3 separate regions of the Homo sapiens genome follow, and regions 2 and 3 are each linked to region 1. Evidence: promoter capture Hi-C in 16 types of primary human blood cells and fetal thymus (Javierre and others, 2016). All regions are on one chromosome and are shown on one strand. The core of a region is centred on a gene start or on the middle of the fragment in contact, and the rest is flanking DNA. Distances in the headings are between cores, read along the strand shown.

Region 1 (3,385 bases), core at 663-3,162:
TTAGTTTTGGCAAACCATGAAAGAAGATTATAAATGCTTCAATCCCAGTGGAGTTGGAAATAAAGTACATGAAAGAAACACTTAATAAAGAATGTTAATCTGTTTGTGTCATTTAAAAAAAAAAGGAAGGGGGTGTAGATAAAACATTTCCACAACTCTTCTTTAATAAATATCTTAAGTGTCCTTTTACAAAGCACACAGGTAAATTAATGTCATGGTTACAAGGACATCAAAAAAAAAATCTAACCACTACCTTTAATCACTATCTTTTGTTCTAAATTTTTTCTGACTATTTCTAAATCAAATCCAACCTTAAACCTATGACGATTATGCACTAAGTTTCTCTGAAAGCATATACTGTAAATTCTGAAAACAATTTCACAAGGCTGCTCCTCATATGGTTTATATAAGAGCATAATCATCTGATTAAGTGAGGGACAGCTCAAGGTGATTATTTTACAGAGGCCTCATTCACTACTATATACAAGCTCAAGAATGAAACTTCACATCCCTTACAATCCCTAGAGCAGTGTTTTATTTATAGGAGTTCCTCAATAAACACTTGCTGATTTGAATGCATTTAATACCTGAAAATGCTAGGACACAAACAATTTGCTGGGCTTTTTTCAAACTCCAAATCAACCCATTTTCATTACTCTCAACGCTCCTTCATGCCAGTTAACTAGTTGGATGTTTTCCATCACTCGAAAAATTGGCCATGTATATTCTGTTGCCAGGATAGTTTCCATTCTGCAGTGTCTCTCCTAAAAGGGGAGAAACTATTAAATCAAAATGGGGTAACCTCACAAGTATAACTATTACAACTTGTATAATAGCTCTTTTACTTCAAACAACAACGACAACAGAAAAAGACCTGTACCTTTTTAGTGGAACTTATGAATAGAATTATTAGCCCAGTAACTAAAGTTGTATGGTACACAATGGTAGAAGACAAGCTAAAACGACATTGGCCTGTAAAAGTTGCTTTCCTGACCTTTCTCCCTCTTCAAGATGGTTAAAGTCACACACGGACAAATGTTGATGTACATTTAACTTCTCAATGTTGATCCAAGGGGAGAAAAAATTGATCAATGTAGGTGTAATCTTCCCCTAAATGAGGAATATTAGCAAGGAAAAAACAAAAGGATATAGTGTCTGCCTGAAGGAATCCTCTTAGATATAAAATCACAACATTTGCTATGAAATAAACTAGAAAGTTTTAAATGCGTAATTACACGTGCCAGGAGTTATGCCCACGTTACTCCACAGGCCCACGCTAGTGGGTGCCAAAGTCAGAAAACCTGCAGCGGCGGTGAGTCACTCCCCAGCAGCACTCTGGGGAATAAGTGTTGGAGCCACAGCACGTACCCTATGGCGCAAGACCGCTGATTAGAACAGAGGGGAAAGGGGATGAGGAAAGAAGTTTCTTCAGCGCCCGCTCCGGGCACCAGCGCTGTCAAACCTGCCACTACGGAAGCCACAGAACCCGGTTACCCGAGTCACCCCGAGCCCCGCCCACTCAGGTTCCTCCCCGCCTGGGGCGGGGTTGGCGCGCGAGGGCCGAGGGGCGGCCCGTGTCCCGAGACGGCTCCTGGGAGGCGGGCTGCCTGTCTAAGTGGGGGTGGTGGGATTCCGGCGGTACCTGCGCTGGAAGTCCACGGCGTAGGGCTTCAAGTACGGGTCGATCTCCAGGAGTCTGGCCAGTTCGGGCACGTCAGCCAGGGCGGCATTGAGCGCCGCCTCGTAGTCCTCGGGCCGAGCCGCGGGAGTCATCGGAGCCGCCATATTCCGCCGCAGTCCAAGTAGCCGAGGCCCGAGAGGTCGAGTGGGGCCTGAGCGGGCGCTGGAGCTCTAGCTGGGACGCGGCGGCTAGGGCGGAGCCGGAGGGCGCCTAGGCGTGTCGAGGCAAGCCGAGGCGAGCCGCGGCGGTCCGGGGCCCTTTATAGCCGGGACGGAAGGCCTCCTGCCCTTTCTCCCCCCGCCAGCGGGGAGGAGCGGATCCCGGGGTGATGCCGGGACGCACGTCCGGAGCGGGTAGGAGGCACCGAGGCCTCTCCGCCCACTCACGCGGCTGGCACCTGGAGGCCGCAGGGACCTGCCCTTTCCTCCCCTTAACGGTTTTTTCCTGCTGGCGGAGGTCATTCTAGGAGGTGGGTCCCAAGCTGACCTCGCTCAGCCTTGGCCTTCCTCACCCTGACATATTCTTGGCTTTTCTTTACCCACTTAAGCACCCACTGACAGCGACCCCTTCAAATTGGACATAAGGGGTTTTTTTGGAAAGGACCGTATTTCTCAAAGTTCTGAGACTTTTGAGGGGCAGTATTTCAAACATATCATGTAAATTCACAGAGAGGGGAACAGTCAAGTGTAGCTAGAGTACTACTGCTGAAAATGTTAATACCTCTTACAACCAGGACTCTCCTAAGTTTGCCAGGTCACGTGAATTTAAAATTAACCAAGACACAGAATCCTGGAATACCGTTGGAATTCTGCTGTTCTGGTACTCTTTTCTGCATTACCAACAGCTAAGAATTTTAGCCATGGGAAGAACTTTTCTCATTCTCCGTAAGGCCAAAAAGGAAAAGGCATTTGCCTGTGTTTATAATTGTTAACAAGCTTTTCAACGATTAAACTACCTTTGATAACACAAATGATATCATTGAATTGGAACTCCACTCTGCCACTTACAGTGATAAGGCAAGAAACCTCTCTTCCTCTTGGCTTGGGAAGCTCCCACTTGGAATTCCCTTCTTTTATTGCCATTAACTGACTAGCTTCTATTTCAATAATTGCTTTTTAGGAATACAGAGTTGGACTCCAAGAGAGATGGACCCACCAAACCCAGGAGGGTCCAAGCTGCTTTACACCTAGAAACTAGAGAGGATTGAGGATATTTTTCTTGTTAAAACCCAGAACTGGAGGATCCTAGGGGTTATGGAGGAGAAACAGTATTAATCAGCCGTGGGCCTTGAATTTTAAAATATTTCAAAGGAAAGTTTTTATAAGGGGTTTCATAGACTTGAAAGATAAGTGGATATGAAGACAGACCTCAGTGTGAAAAAGTGAAGGACTTGAACGACTTTAAGACGTGCCTTGTTTTCCATAAAGATGACAAAAAACTGCTGCAGACATTTGTAAAATATAAAGCACTAAAAAAGGAAGAAAATTAAAAAAAAATAAAAACCCGAAGCAGGACAACTATTAATAACAGACCCACAGATCTACATCTCCAAGCCTAAACTTTTTTCAGAAACCCAGGCTTGTATCACTGCCTGTCTACTGAGATTTCCATTTAGCTGGCTAGGAGACCTAAACAAACTGTCTGCAAAACGTGACCTAGAATCCGTCTTCTCATCCTTCCTGCTGTCACTCTTATGCAGGCCAC
Region 2 (3,385 bases), core at 313-2,812, 340 kb after region 1:
TAAATATATGATCTCTATGAACTCATACCTATCTACATGTACTAAATGTCTTGTGATGTGAGAATACATCACATCTCTCATCAGGTATTATTCTAAAGTGTTTGATGAGAAGAGTGTTATGCTGGGGAAAATAAATGCAAAAAAAACACCATCCTGTGAGAATTAATTTGCTTTGATTTCATTTGCAAATTTCTAGACATATTCAGCAATATTCCTTAGTGAAGCCCACTTGTGAGTTTGCTAGAAGGATAAATGGATGAATTCACCTTTCAGGATTACTTTGTTGGCATCCTTCAAACATGAAAAACTATTAGAATTCATTATAGTGCTTTTACCCCTCCCCCACCCCACCTTTATATTTTAGCCCTAATTATCTCTTTGAGCAAGAGTATGTTTTCAGATATTTCAGTTATAATAGATTCATCCTCATCTACACACCAATATCATCATTCTTTCCTTTCATCATATAATTTGGGAGGAGGTTCTTTCTTCACTATACTAAACTGGAAATCTGAAGTGCCTTTTTGTGAATTGTCTCTCTTCCTTTTATGAACTTTTCAAAAATATTTCCCCCATGATTTTGAAGTAAAACAAAACAAAACAACAAAACCTTTTAGTTTGTTGTAAAGCTTGAAAGACCTATAATATCTGACCTGTCCAAATCAGGCATGCTATTTCTTTTCCATCCTAACAAACAAGAGCATATTAATCATGTAGTAAACTAATAAAGATGATTGCCTGATTAACTCCATGCCCAGAATTAATTACAACAGAAGCAGTTGTTCTTACAACTTAAATTAGAGCTTGTAGATGATATGGGTAGTCAATAAATCACTCTGCTTCTGATATGGTGTTCAAAAACTTGTATTAGACAATCTGATTCACAGCCATAACAGTTCTGTTATCCAGTGGTGATGAGATCCAGACTTATTACTTACATATTAGTCTATAATTATACTAGCCATTTTTTATCAAAGTTGAAATAAGTCAATCAGCATTATAGATTGATATTTTACCTCCTGTGGGCAAACTAGCTATATCATTAATTCTGATTGGGTTTTGTTGCTCATTGTTTTATTAAAGCCTAGGATTGTTAGTGTGTCAAACTGAATAATGCAGTACTGAAGTATTTTATAAGAGGCATCATAAAATAACAGGTACCAATCATCAGGCATAATTATTTTGCTATGTTTCCATAACTTTGCTTATTCTTATTTTCTCTTCTGGTAGATTATCTTCTACATCCTTTTTCATAAAGATGTTCCTTAGTTTAAAAGAAAGGAAATATTTTTATTGCTTTTCTGGACATTTATCATTGCATTTCCTTGTGGAAAAAGTGAAAAAAACAAACAAACAATTTCTCACTAGTTTTATTTACAAACTTTTTTTTCCAGTTTATTGTGATTGATTTTGTGCTGCCGTGCTACTTTTATAACCGTCCTCAAGGTCAAAAACAACTACCTATTTTCCATCAAACCTATCTCCAACAACCTACAATCAAAGTATTTTGCTTGATATTTTTTATTACAAGTTCTCTTTTTGTGTTTGTATGTCATTTTTAAATGCTTATTGATCTATGTGCCATTAGGTTATTAGGTTATTGTGGTGTGATATAACCATTGTGGGTTTTGGTAGTGCCTATCTTATTAGATGATTTTTTTTTTCCTATTTAAACCTTTTAAAGCTGAAAAAAATATTTTCTAACAATTTGGCAATGACTAAAATTCAAAAGGAAATTACACAATTAGTACTTTGTGTGCATAATTATGTTTAATATGTATTTTTTAAGTTTTTTATTTACTGATTTGGAAGATGTTATAGCAGAGGTAATAAATATTTAAGAATTTATGGATATTAGTGCAATTTGTTGTGAATTTTAATGTTCTGCACTTAGTAATATACTTTATTTTTTAACCTTTTAAAAAAAATCCCTCACAGTACATATATATAGTTAGATAGAAGAAATAAATTCAATGTTTGATAGCAGAATAGGATGACTATACTTAACAAAAATATATTATACTCAGGTAATAGACTCGCTAAATACCCAGACTTGATCACTATGCATTATATACATGTAACAAAATTACTCATGTACCCCATAAATTTGTATACATAATAATTTTTAAAAATTCCATTTGGCTTGGCTTGGTGGCTCATGCCTGTAATCCCATCAGTTTGGGAGGCTGAGGCAGGCAGATCACTTGAGGTCGGGAGTTCGAGACCAGCTTGGACAACCCAGTGAAACCCTTGTCTCTACTAAAAATACAAAAATTAGCCAGGAGTGGCGGTGCACACCTGTAATCCCAACTACTCGGGAGGCTGAAGCAGGAGAATCGCTTGAATCTGGGAGATGGAGGTTGCAGTGAGCCAAGTTCATGCCACTGCACTCCAGCCTGAGTGACAGAGCGAGACTCTGTCTCAAAAAGAAAGAAAAAAATGAAAAATAATAAATAAATAAAAATAAAAATTTCATTCAAAGATGTTTTAAGGTTGTAAGCTTAACGTTTTAATATATTAATGATTTTCAGAGATTTTCTCTTGAGAGAGGATTAGGTAACTAGGACTAAATCCCCATCAAGAATAATTAGAAAATTGGGCAAAATATATATTAAAACAACTTATTGGAAGGCGCATTAGTTACATCTTGCTGTACAGAAAACTAACCAAAACTTAATGGCTTAAAATGGTATCAGTATATTTAATTCACAATTCTGTGGGGTTAGAATTTAGGGTATCACGCTGGTATGAGCTATGTTTGGTTGATCATGGCTGAACTCACAGACCTGTCAGTTCATGGGTTGGCTGGAGCTGCTTGGCTGATGTCTGGGATGTCTGGGATGACTGGAATTCCTCTGGACAGGGTTTTTCATGCTCCAGCAGGCTAGCCTGAACTTGTTCCTAAATTGATGGCTTTATTTCCTCGATGTATACTAACGACATAATCCTACTCTTGCAGACTGAAGCACACAACTGAAATCTTTCTCATTAAAGAAATGTTTCCTGAAATATATGAATTATCTTTATTTTGTTTCCTGTTTAACCTCTCTGCTACACTGTCACTGCTGATGCTTTTGTCCATGCTCGTGTCTACCTGTATCCTACTCATTAGTTCCTCATCTGTTATTTTATTTAATAGGCATTTTCTTCAATTTTCCTTTTTTATTTCATTTTTCATTACATTCATCTATTCCTGGCTCTCACTCATTCTATATCGACTACTACCTAAATCTACACTTCAGCATTTCCTTTTTCTCCTTATATCTGGACTAATATTTCTAATTATCAGATGGGCATTTCCAACTGTCTTTTTAGCATCACAAACTCAGTATCCCCAAATGTGAATATATCATATACTTCCATTTATTTGCTCTTTCTCTTGAAG
Region 3 (3,385 bases), core at 487-2,986, 260 kb after region 1:
TTGTTATGAGAAGTTTTACTTAGATACCTTGTCAATAAACATTAGACTCAGTCACCTGTTGAAATATGATATATTAAATAAGCCATTAAAATCATTTTTTTGTGTGTGAATTTGTCATTGCAAGAAACTGATTTTTTTACACCTTCAATAAATGTTAAATCATTGTGATCTGCCTGGATTAACTAGATGAGAGGCATTTCTTTGAACTTGAGACTGCGTTTTCCTTTTTCTGTGATTGAACATATACTTTTACATGAAAGGATCAATGCTTTAAAAATTGGTTCATGCAGGGGCGTTCAGTTTTAAGGCACTGGCTCATGGTAACTAATCATGTATTACTCATTTGTAAGTCGGATGGAGATTTGTTTACAGTAGGGATTATATTCCAGTCATAGTAAGAAACCTAATGTCTACTGTGCAGGTCAAAATGTTTCTTATTAACACTACCAGGAAAACTGAACTAGTAAGTTAAATGACTAGTAAGGGTGAAAATAGTGTAAAGATAGTTGAATGGTATTGAGAAATATTTCACCCAGGATGGAGGAAATGCAGGAGATTTATCTATATAATACACATCTGTTTAGTTACTTGAATATTCCTGACAGCCATTTGCTCTTAGACAATGCTGGTTAGCATTGACTCATTTTTAATGTATAAGCTATCTTTTTTTTATGCTCCATGCAAGATCATGGCTTTTCTGACATAAAATAAGGATATCACTTCAGATACACTACAAAAGAGCAGAGTGGTTTATAATTTTCCAGGAAACTGAGGTGTGTTTGATCTCCTTGATTGAATTAAGTACAATGCACTGATTGTTTGGAGAAATTACTGCTATAGATGGCCACATGCATTAATATAGATTGGGTTATTTTTCAAATTTATAATGGTTTTGCTCCTCTTCACCAGAAGTAATTCATGGTAGTCTTATAATGTTGCCTCCCAGGCATTGGTGATTAAGTTGAATTAGACACCTGGCACAACAGGCTCCAACTAGGTTCTCCTTTCATTGGGATTTTGGAGTTGGGAATGAGACAGAAGTGACCCTTTGCTTATGCATAACATTTACCATGTGAAATCTGAAGCTATGTTGTGGCCCTAACATTCCAAACAGATAAAGAATCTGACAGAAGAATAATGAAGCTATGCAAAAAGAAACAACATTGAGAAAAGAAAAAAAAACTTTTAATAGTTTACATTTCCTTTATTCTAGGTAATTTCTGAGGTCCATCTGCAAACCTATTTAGGTACCATAGGACCTCTCTCCCACATTTCTTTAAATCCCTTTTTTTGTTTAAGCAAGCTTGAGTTGTTTCTGTCACTTGTATCTAACATAGCTCACTAAATAATAGTAGAATTCATGAATGAGAGAATCAATATGAGGACACATGTATGTAACATGGTATGTGCTCAATATATTTTAATTACACCTGATATTGAAATGTTATGATTTTTAAACTTTCATTTTCAGAGGGTAACCTTTATCTGACTTTGTCCTCAAATTCTGGGATTCCTTTGGAGTGCCCCCTCAAGCTCTTTCTGCAACCATATTTAAGATTAACTTCAAATCTAAGGTTACATAAAATCATTTGCCTTATTTAACAAGGCAAAATATTGAGACATTATCCTCTAAGAAACAAAGTAATAAGTCATAGTTAGAGCTAATGAGTTGCTATTGAATTTGTACAGGCGAATCAAGGACCTTCTCTCATTCAGCTAGAAATGCTGATCTTATGTTAGCTTGCCATTGATATCTTAATCTTATTGACAAAAATGTAAAAGTGTGAAGCATAGTGTGACTTCTGTGTTGAATCTACTGAATGAGTAAAATCTGAAAGGAGTGGACATTGTTAACTGGGAGTAATGTTTAATTTTTTTACCTCTACAAATTGCTACTTTAACATTTTAAAATTTGTATAAAGCCTTATTTATTTTTTGATTTGTATCTTTATGACCCAATCCTCTTAGGAATTTTTGTGTGTGTGTGCAGTATATTTACTGTGTAATTTTATTGTTTCAAATGTATAGTGACTGGAGAGGATGATAGGTTTGGACTTGTTTGATCAATTCCTTCAGGTACTAGTTCCCTTTAATTGCAGTATTGATTGCTGCAGGTATAACGGGACTTGTGACTTCATAAGACACACCATGTCAGCCTTCAGAGGAAGTAGAAGCTTTGGAAGCAAGTGGTTCAGGTTACTATTTATCTCATGACCCTATGAAAGTCGACATGTGTCATCAAAAGTGACATGCCAAAGATTCAGATTTCTTTGGCATAGCTTCTGAAAGTTAAGACAATTCTCTGAATCTTTATAGTCTTGAAATCTCTCCATGTAGTTTTTCCCTTGAGAATGTTAGTATTTCTTTAGTTCATCAAGGTCCGATGAAAAGCAGTTTTTTGTCTTCTCTAGTTCCTGGTTGGCCTTTTTGTTTCAGATAACAACCAGTAGAAGAAGAGTTTTGAAATCCTGGGATCTCATAATTTAGTAATGGAAATAAGCCATAGATACAAATAGTGTCAACCCAAGATGGTCTGTAGTGGACTAGCTGAGACTGAGGCAACAGGGAAGCGTAACTGTGGAAAGTGAATATGAAGCTGCTGAAGCTGACTCAGCCACTTTTTAGCTTCTTCTGTGTTGGTGACCTTGAGCAATAAATACGATCTATGTCACTTTCAGTTTTCTCATCTGAAAAATAAGAATAAGAATGATATTCTTACAGTATAATATTACCCCTATAATATTATATAATATGGTATAATTAGGGAAGATGCCAAGAAAGAAAACCTAACTGAAGGGATACGTAGGGTTTCAAAGCCTGAGGTGGTAGAAAATGCTTCTTAAGTGGTGGAGATCAGAGGTGTGAAATTTTAAGGTATGACCACAGAGAAGCTAGAAAACTAGTTTGACAGGTGACTAATACTTATGTGTGCCAGAGTTTGTTAAACTTTTCGGCTGGAAGACCCCTAAGGCCATGGGGAAATGACTGATCCTAGGGAAGGAAACACCACCACCGTCACCTCTACCATTGCCACAATAATAACACATTTATCAAGGGCTTGAATAGAGAATATTGTATTTTATGTGTAAACAATTGTATTAATTAGCTTAATGTATACTTACTACTCACAAATTATTTTCTCTTTATACTTTAACAACAAAGCCCAAAGAACCAGGCTCTTATATCTACACTGTCTCAGCTGAGTGCTAACATAACCCAAATAAATATTTCATTGCATGAGATAAGGAAAGTGAGGCTCACAATTAATGAGTTAGTATGTGTTAGAGCTGAGTCTTGGGAATGTGAGTACCAGAGCACTCTCTCTAAGCCTGTCTGTATACTGCTTCTGGGGATTTGGTTGTGGGTGTCAATATTTTTGGAAAGC

What was found. Contacts are between HindIII fragments. The CHiCAGO score rates a contact against its expected background, and 5 or more counts as called.
Region 2: a fragment that was not itself captured here is called in contact with the fragment with the promoter of GBE1 in region 1 in 2 of 17 cell types (M0 macrophages and monocytes); the score reaches 5.6 in M0 macrophages.
Region 3: a fragment that was not itself captured here is called in contact with the fragment with the promoter of GBE1 in region 1 in 5 of 17 cell types (M0 macrophages, monocytes, M1 macrophages and 2 more); the score reaches 8.9 in M0 macrophages.

What each region holds. Positions count from the first base shown.
Region 1 is chr3:81,759,733-81,763,117 of GRCh38, forward strand. It overlaps GBE1 (1,4-alpha-glucan branching enzyme 1), which reads right to left and starts at 1,913. Exons shown (of 16, transcript NM_000158.4): 1 at 1,643-1,913. The coding sequence starts at 1,785. RefSeq lists enhancers at 1,192-1,361, 1,702-1,991, 1,778-2,386 and silencers at 1,462-1,541, 2,042-2,141. The HindIII fragment of the contact is 5,689 bases long and covers 1-2,614 here.
Region 2 is chr3:82,097,737-82,101,121 of GRCh38, forward strand. The region is part of intron 1 of LINC02008 (long intergenic non-protein coding RNA 2008); the gene reads left to right. Among named protein-coding and RNA genes, the nearest start is that of LINC02008, 110 kb to the left of the region's middle. The HindIII fragment of the contact is 1,871 bases long and covers 628-2,498 here.
Region 3 is chr3:82,020,102-82,023,486 of GRCh38, forward strand. The region is part of intron 1 of LINC02008 (long intergenic non-protein coding RNA 2008); the gene reads left to right. Among named protein-coding and RNA genes, the nearest start is that of LINC02008, 36 kb to the left of the region's middle. The HindIII fragment of the contact is 871 bases long and covers 1,302-2,172 here.